Linked DNA regions of Homo sapiens: all the other regions are linked to region 2. The links are contacts of gene promoters, found by promoter capture Hi-C in human tissues and cell types (Jung and others, 2019). All regions are on one chromosome and are shown on one strand. The core of a region is centred on a gene start or on the middle of the fragment in contact, and the rest is flanking DNA. Distances in the headings are between cores, read along the strand shown.

Evidence for each region. The method cuts DNA at HindIII sites, captures the fragments that hold promoters and counts their contacts. A contact is called where the count stands out against the background at its distance.
Region 1: a fragment that was not itself captured here is called in contact with the fragment with the promoter of AVP in region 2 in 1 of the 25 tissues and cell types used here (mesenchymal stem cells).
Region 3: a contact is called between a fragment that was not itself captured here and the fragment with the promoter of AVP in region 2, in 1 of the 25 tissues and cell types used here (H1 embryonic stem cells).

Annotation. Positions count from the first base shown.
Region 1 is chr20:2,875,663-2,878,710 of GRCh38, reverse strand. The region is part of intron 1 of PTPRA (protein tyrosine phosphatase receptor type A); the gene reads right to left. Among named protein-coding and RNA genes, the nearest start is that of PTPRA, 3.7 kb to the right of the region's middle. The HindIII fragment of the contact is 3,612 bases long and covers 1-3,048 here.
Region 2 is chr20:3,083,408-3,086,207 of GRCh38, reverse strand. It overlaps AVP (arginine vasopressin), which reads left to right and starts at 1,484. Exons shown (of 3, transcript NM_000490.5): 1 at 1,484-1,653. The coding sequence starts at 1,534. The HindIII fragment of the contact is 11,932 bases long and covers 1,238-2,800 here.
Region 3 is chr20:3,307,015-3,310,168 of GRCh38, reverse strand. The region is part of intron 20 of DNAAF9 (dynein axonemal assembly factor 9); the gene reads left to right. Among named protein-coding and RNA genes, the nearest start is that of SLC4A11, 69 kb to the right of the region's middle. The HindIII fragment of the contact is 8,715 bases long and covers 1-3,154 here.

The DNA of each region.
Region 1 (3,048 bases), core at 218-2,717, 210 kb after region 2:
GGAAACTAGTTCAACCTTTCCAGATTGCAATTAGGCACCGAAACTGTATCCTCTGACTTGGTGAGCCCAGGTTGGGAGTAAGAGTCCAAGGAAATAATCCAAAAGAAGTATTTGAACAAGGGGTATAAAAGTACCATTTATAATAGCAAAAAGGTAGAAAAAAATAAAAGAATAAAAAGGATTGCACCAACTACAGCTGTTGGCTGAGAGTGGTGGCTCACACCTGTAATCCCAGCACTTTGGGAGGCCAAGGCGGGTGGATCACTTGAGTCCAGGAGTTCAAGACTAGCCTGGGCAACATAAAAATGTCTCTACAAAAAATAAAAAAATTAGCTGGTCGTGGTGGCACAGACCTGTGCAGTCCCAGCTATTCAGGTGGCTGAGATGGGAAGATCATTTAGCCCAGGAGGTCAAGGCTGCAGTGAGCTGTGATCATGCCACTGCACTCCAGCCAGGGTGGCAGAGTGAGACCCTGTCTCAAAAAAACAAAAACAAATTTAAAAAAAACTACAGCTGTCGATGCATGGAATACTATACTGTGATTTTTTTTTTCTTTTTTTTGAGACGGAGTCTCGCTCTGTCGCCAGGCTGGAGTACAGTGGCAAGATCTTGGCTCACTGCAACTTCCGCCTCCTGGGTTCAAGTGATTCTCATGCCTCAGCCTCCCGAGTAGCTGGGATTACAGGCACGCGCCACCACACCCAGCTAATTTTTGTATTTTTAGTAGAGATGGGGTTTCACCATGTTGGCCAGGATGGTCTTGATCTCTTGACCTCATGATCCACCTGCCTCAGCCTCCCAAAGTGCTGGGATTACAGGCGTGAGCCACCGCACCCAGCCTGTGATTTTAAATGAACAAATACTTAAATGAGTAAATATAAAATATTTTATGCTATTGAAGAATTCAAAAATCATATTCTATATGTACTGACTGCTACTATAAAAATTATGTCTTGTACACTGACACAAATGGATGTGAATTTAGAGTAAAATAAATAGTTTTACATTTAATGGATTCTCTTTTCCATAGAGAATACATTAAAATAAATTTTAATGTTGGGCTATTTTTGGGCCTGCTGTTCAGTTTTATTAAGTTAGTGTTATATTATTGCTATTTTTGTTGTACTCAGACTCACTAAAAAACCATTTCTTCACCGGGCACGGTGGCTCATGCTTGTAATCCCAGGACTTTGGGAGGCCAAGACCAGCGGATCACCTGAGGTCAGGAGTTCAAGACCAGCCTTACCAACATGGAGAAACCCCGTCTTTACTAAAAATACAAAATTAGCCAGGTACAGTGACACATGCCTGTAATCCCAGCTACTCGGGAGGCTGAGGCAGGAGAATCGCTTGAACCCAGGAGGCAAAAGTTGCGTGAGCCAAGATAGCGCCATTGCATTCCAGCCTGGGCAACAAGAGCAAAACTCCATCTCAAAAAACAAACAAACAAACAAACAAACAAAAAACATCTCTTCAGCTTTGTCATTTGGAAACATTTATTATTGCACTGGAAGTAAAATGACAAGATTCTATATTTGGCCAGTTTCCCTCTCATAACTCAAACTTCCCCTGCATCTCATTTTTTTCCATGTGAAAATGGAGAAAAATAATGCAATAATGTTTACAAACTGACACTGAGCACCTCCAATGAAAGGTGCTGGCAAATACAAACATGAGGGGTGCAAAAATACAAAACAAAACACCCACCACCACCCGCACTGATCATCCTGCACAAGTTACTTTTATCCTTCTGAGCCTCAACATCTCCCTCTGTAAATTCAAAGAAACTGGCTAGAATCGCATAGGGTGGGGGAGGATTTGTGGAGGAAAAGTAGGCATATAATAGCTGAAAAAGCATCGTAGTTGATCCTCCTGAATTCTCCAAAGATCATCTATCCAGCTATACACTTTGGGGGAGAGGATAAATTGGTACAACCCCCCAGAAACGGGTGGCAGTTTGGCTCCATGTCTGCAAATCAAAAATGCAGACATATCCCTTGACCCAGTAATTCTACTTCTAAAAGCATATTGTTCAGATAACTTTGCAAATGAGCACATAACACAGTATGTACAAGGACATTCATTGCTGTAAGAGAAGAACCTGGAAACAAATATTTAACCCAAAGATGTTACAGTACAGCCATACAACTAAATAAGTAAAAGCATGTCAACAGAAAGAACAAATAACTCTCTATATATGTTGATAATAGAATGATTTCCTAAATATGTTAAGTAAAAAAACCCAGTAAGGTGTGAGTGGTACGTCCCATGGTGGGAGGAGTATGGATAAGCAGGCACATATTTATAAAGCAACAGTGTCTATGGAAGGCCATATAAACTGAAAACTTCAGCCATCTCTGGGGAGGAGGTTAGGGAGACAGGAGACTTGGGGCCAGGGTAGGAGGGACATTTTTCTCTATATACTCTTTTGTATTGCTAGAACTTTTGAATTTTTCTCTCATCTGCATTAATTATCTTTTCCCAAAATTGAGCAGGATTCTCTCTACACCTTCCTCTGGGTCTAAGAGGCTGTGACTCTACCTCTGTCAGACCCAACCAGTGCCTCCTATATTGCAGGGGCATCTGCATTTGGCCCTATATTGCCCCCAAATGATCTTTCCAAAATTCTTTCAGCCCAAGTCCCTGACCTCCTTTAAATCCTCTAGTAGCTCTCCATTGTCCTTACCTGATCCAGCTATGATTAACCTCTTCCCTCCTCCCCAAGGACAGTGGATTCCTTCCACCACCAAGTTTGCTTGTGCTGCTCCCTCTTGCCTATGTGTGCAGTCCACCACGCGCAAACTCCTATGCATCCTTCATGATCCGAAGGCCCCCCCGTCCCAGGAAAGCTTTCCCAAATCACCCAGGCAGGGGATGCTCCCTACACAGCCTGGCAGAGGCTCTGCAAATACACGGCCAAAATTCAAATCTTGACTATTCCCTCATTTGCCCACTGTTTGGCCTCAGTTTCCAACCCTGTAGAGTAGGAATAAGCCCTTTTATGACTGTTGAAAAGACTGAGGGAATTCATGGAAAACATTACATAGC
Region 2 (2,800 bases), core at 235-2,734:
GAGGTGGGTACCATGATTTTCCTTACTTCACACTGGCAGAAAGTAAGGCACAGAGAAGTCCAGTGAGCTGCCCAAGCCATGAAGTGTCGAGCAACAGAGGCCAGACCCTGAGCCAAGCTATTGGGAGCCAGTGTTCCTGCAATAACAACTGCCCAGTGTTGCCTCTCAAAGGGTCCTTGCAGTCCCTGAGGGGTCATTCCTGAAAAGACCGACGCCATGGCCTGAGTATAGGAGGCCCCTCCTGGGTTGCTGGCCCCCTCACTGCCCTTGCTGGAGATGGGGCTGCTGTGTCCCCTGGAATTTCCTCGCAGCACCTCTATGCACCCTGGAGAGGAGGCCAAGAGCCTGTGGGAACTGCGAGAGCTGGGGACTGCGCACAGCTTGAGAGGCAGGGGGTACCGGGCCTGAACCCCAGACCAGCGGGGCATTCTGGTGGCCCAGGGAGAGAGGCCATGTCCTCTTTAGACCTGCCACCTTGGGATTAGGGACCAAAAGTGGCTTTCTCAGGCTGGGTCCATTTAGGTATGGCTCCTCCTGCACCTTCCCCCAGGCCCAGACACCCCCCACCCCCGGCTCTCCCACCCCAGGCCTGAGATGTACCTGCCCTGGTTGCCACATACTAAGGTCCTGGTGGGGGTAGGAATTGGGACAAACTGTTGTCAGGTTTCCTGGGGCTCCCCCCGCCTTTGAACCTTACTTGGCATGGAGTTCTTTCTCCCCATAGTAGCTCTCCACACTCATGTTTCTACCTGGGAGGGGGTGACGGGTCATGTGCCAATGTGTCCCCAAGGCCCCCAGTTTCAGGGCCTGAGTCCCCATGCCCTGCTCTATGGGGGTGCGGGGGTGTCATGTCTTGCACTTTCCCCAGCAACCTGCCACCCCCCTACCCTGTGAGAACAAGCCCCTCTCATTCTGTGTCCCTTGACTCCACGACGGCGGCTGCCTTGTCCACGAGGCAGGGATTCTCATCTCTGGTGCAGCCCCTGTCCTCACCACTCTGGGCTTGTGCTGTTCTTGGTCCCTTATCTTGTTGTCACAGGGCTAACCCTCCCCACACACCTGGCTGTCCCCTGCCCCACAGCTCCTAGGCCAGGGCCTGTCCCTGCCCCTAACACGCAGCCCCTCGGTTCCTCTTACCCTCTTCTTGGACCCTACGCCATTTCTGGGTAATCAGAAAGCTCAGAGATGGTCTCCAGGTGACCCCCCAGTCTGTCCCTCTCCCTGAATCCAGAGCGCTGCAGTCACAGTAGAGGCAATTGCTGTCATTCCGCGGCCCATGACAGCCTGGCGGCCCGTACCCCTCCCCTATGATCCCCTGCACAGACAGGCCCACGTGTGTCCCCAGATGCCTGAATCACTGCTGACGGCTGGGGACCTGGCGGCCGTGGGCTCCTGGGGAGCCACTGGGGAGGGGGTGGCGGCCGCGTCTCGCCTCCACGGGAACACCTGCGGACATAAATAGGCAGCCAGCAGAGGCAGCAGCACAGAGCCACCAAGCAGTGCTGCATACGGGGTCCACCTGTGTGCACCAGGATGCCTGACACCATGCTGCCCGCCTGCTTCCTCGGCCTACTGGCCTTCTCCTCCGCGTGCTACTTCCAGAACTGCCCGAGGGGCGGCAAGAGGGCCATGTCCGACCTGGAGCTGAGACAGGTACTTCCCACTGTGGGCCATCTCAGGGCTGCCATAGCGGGCAGTGCTGACACCCTGGGTCAGGGGCTAGGAAAGAGGGAAGTCATGGGTGGTGGTAGCCTTTAGGGGAAGTTCGGGGGAGGAAGAGGGAGGCATGGCATGGCTGGGCAGAGGAGCCAATGGGGTGGGCCAGAGGGGACCAGGCTTTGGAGGAGGCTGGGAGAGGCTGAAGGCGCTCCTGGTCACTGTCGCCATCCAGACAGGGATGCAGGGAAATGAGGGATGCTTCCCCGGTGACTGGGCTTGGGGCTGGATAGGGAGAACGGGGCATCATGGCCTCCCCTGTGCCCATGGCGTTCTTGCATCTGGACTGGCTGGGGCAGCAGAGGCTCCATCCTACCTAGCATTGGAGGCTTTCCTCATCCAGCCCCAGCCTCCCAGCCACAGGCGCCCAGGCCCCCACACAGAAGATGGCCACTGGTCTGAGCGCGCTTGAGTGGGGCATCCTGTGGGGAAGTTCTGCTGGGAACCTGGCCTAATTCTATAGTGCTGGACGTTTCCTCCATTTCCAGCAGAGCTGAAGGAAATCCAATCACGATGTGCATGCAATTCTGTCCAGGCTCAATGATGAGCCCTTGAGCAAATTAGACCACACCAGGCTCAGCTAAAAGTCTAATGCGCTATCCATTGCGCCAGAGAACCGGCTGTTGAGCAGATGAGAGTGGCCGCTCGGCAACCCCCGCAGCCTCTCTTCCTCCTGCTAGGCTCCTTTAGGGTCCTGAGGCACCTGGGTGTCCGTGCTCGCCTCTAGGTCTCAGGCCCCTGCCACCCACCTGATAGGTCATAGGTGGCTGAGCAGGGGTCAGGGCTCCAGCTGAGGCCGACAAGCTTGGCGGGGGCCAGGGGCAAGGCAAGAGAGGAGACAGGAAATGGGAAGGGCCGGGGTTCTGGATGGGTAGGGCCTCTCCGCATGGTGTAGTGGGGAAGGGGGTGGGCCCGGGCTCAAGCCGCAGCAGGGCGAGGAGGAAGGAGGAAGGGTCTGGAGTGGTGGAGGGTGGGGCAGCTGCAACAGTGGCGCCCACCAGCGATGACCCCGAGGCTCGAGGAAGGGTTCCCCACGCTGTAGTCCACGGGAGACCCGTCCCTAGCTGAGGGTGAGGACGCTGAG
Region 3 (3,154 bases), core at 88-2,587, 220 kb before region 2:
CTGGGCTAGAGTGCAATGGCACGATCTTGGCTCACTGCAACCTCTGCCTCCCAGGTTTAAGCGATTCCCCTGCCTCAGCCTCCCGAGTAGCTGGGATTACAGACATGCACCACCATGCCCGGCTAATTTTGTGTTTTTAGTAGAGGTAGGGTTTCTCTATGTCGGTCAGGCTGGTCTCAATCTCCCGACTTCAGGTGATCTGCCTGCCACAGCCTCCCAAAGTTCTGGGATTACACGTGAGCCACTGCGCCCAGCCAGGAATTCTTTATAGATTTTGGATACTAATTCTTTGTCAATTCAGTATATTGCAAATATTTTCTTTCACCTGGTGGCTTGTCTTTTTATTTTATTTCTGATGCTTTTTCATGAATAAAAGTTCTTAGTTTTAATGTAATCAGGATAATTAATCATTTCCTATGTGATTCATATATTTTAGATCTATTGAGACTTTTCTGTTGAATTATAAAAATATAATTTTTCAAAGAATCCACCTGGATTGCTCTGTGAAAGTGATATGAGATAGAAGTCTAAGTTCATTTTTTAAATGTAGGTAGCCACCTGTCTCAGCAAAGTTATTGAAAAATCATTGTTTTCCCACTGATCGGCAGTGCCAGCTTTGTTATAAATCAAGTCTCTTTATGTGTGCATCTATTAATAGGCTCTCTGTTCTGTTCCATTGGGAAAGAAAATAACACATTGTCTTATTTTAGATAGATAACATATTTCTATATGGTGACTTAGTCTGCTTGGGATGCCATAACAAAATACCACAGAGTGAGTGGATTAACAGTAGGAATTTATTTCTCACAGTCTGGAGGCTGAGAAAATTATAACACTATACTAAAAGGCATTAAAAATGACATAAACACACATCCCATTCATGGACTGGAAAACTCAGGTTTACTTACTTGACATGGTAAAAATGACAATTCTCTCCAAAGTGATCTTTAAATTTAACATAATTTCAGGAAAAAAAAAACCAACAAGTTTTTTGAAAATCCTGAAAAGCCAACATAAAAATGTCAATAACTTTGAGCAAAGTGCTAAGAACAGCCAAGATACTCCTGAAGAAGAAAAACAAGGTGGGAACTTGCCTTATCACATTAGAGACTGAATGTTTGTGTCCTCTCCAAAATTCCAGTGTTGAAGCCTTAACCCCAAAAGTGATGTTATCTGGAGATGGGGCTTTTGGAAGGAAATAGGGGTTAGATGAGGTCATGAATGTGGGACAAGGTCTGTTGGGATGTGGTGCCCTTATAAGAGCTACCAGAGAGCTTAGCCCCTACCATGTATGCATGGAGGAGGAGTCATGTGGGCATGTGGCACCACACCTGGCTAATTTTTTTTTTTTTTTAGTAGAGATGGAGTTTCACCATGTTGGCTAGGCTGGTCTCAAACTCCAGGCCTCACGTGAAGCTCCCACCTCAGTCTCCCAAAGTGCTGGGATTACAGGCGTGAGCCACTGTACCTGGCTGGAGGGAGCCACCGCACCTGGCTGGAGGGACACTTTAAAAATGAAGGTTTTGGTCTGGCACGGTGGCTCACACCTGTAATCCCAGCACTTTGGAAGGCCGAGGCGGGCAGGTCACCTGAGGTCAGGAGTTCGAGACTAGCCTGGCCAGCGTGGTGAAACCCCATCTCTACTAAAAATACAAAAATTAGCTGGACCGTGGTGGCGCATGCCTGTAATCCCAGCTACTTGGGAGGCTGAGGCACAAGAATCACTTGAACCTGGGAGGCGGAGATTGCAGTGAGCAGAGATGGCACCACTGCACTCCAGCCAAGGCAACAGAGTGAGACTCCATCTCAAAAAAAAAAAAAAAAAAAGTAAAGTTTTGTACAGCACTGAGCATGAAGGAACTGTATAGCTGCATATTACTTGTAACATAGGTCACATTCAGGAACAGAATGTCAGGAGAAGTAAGCAAGTCACAGAAGAATACATGATTAGGATTTCATTTATATAAAAACACAGACAAAACTAAGTAATACACAGTTTACAAATACATTCAAGTGTGGTAAAACCATCCAGAATTCAGGATGCTGTTCCCCCTGGGTGGAAGAGAAGGGCTCTCATTGAGGAAGGACATCCAGGGGGTTTCAACGGTGCTAGTAATGCTCAATTTCTTAGGCCCAGTGGTGAGTTCATAGACATCTGGGTTTTGTAGTTGTTGCTTTAGTTTTTTTTTTTTTTTTTTTTTAAACCTTGTGTGTACATTTCACACACATTTATAGACACAGGATGAAAATCATCTAGCCATTGCATCATAAATTTCCCCAGCAGTGATAAATGTTCCCTCCTCACATAGACTGGGCTGTTGGAAGATTTTTATTTGTACAGCCAGTTTTCTGAAAGAGGAAAGCGAAATTCTTCTTTGGCATTTGCTTGGTATTTTGGTTTACCCTGAGGGCCCATCCCTCTTTTGTTGGACTTCCAGGGATACAGAGCTCAATCAAAGACAACCAAACTGCAGTCCTCCTGGTTTTGGGACAATAATGGGAAACTTCCTCTTATCCTGGGTTTTCAGACTTACAGAATGGAGAAGGAAGGACAGAGTTCATCCACTAAGGACACCAAGGATGGCACAAAGAGTCAGGGAGATCTCCTCAGGAGTTGGCTGCCCTGGCCCCTGTGAACCCCTGCAAAGGTATGGCCCTCAGACCACTGTCTGACAGTCAAGAGTCCAGAGCAGATACCAGAAGGGTTATTGCTTCAAGCAGATGAGGATCTGAGACCAGAGCACAGGCACTGGGCCACCCAGTAAGTCACTTCACTTATCTCATGTGTGCTCTGAGAATAATGGCAGAGTTACTGCTCATAGAGCCAGGCTAAGGGGCAGCTGCGATCACAGGACAGATCACAGGACAGTACTGAAATCAGATCCTGTTTACTGAGACCTTGCCTTGGCTCATGCCCCATAATGAGCTCTTCCAGCACTGTCTTGTGAATTTGTCTTCCTCTTTTCCATTTTGTTTTGAGGCTTCAGAGTCTAGTGGGAGAGGAAATGCTGGAGATGACCTCGCTCATCCTTTCCCATCTTCCTATTGAGTAAATGGAATGTGCCAGCTTCTCCAATCTGTGCTTTTTTCTGGAAGCTTCAGGATTTTGAGCTTTGTCCAGGAGGCCTTTCAAGTGGCACTGGACTTGTTTCTA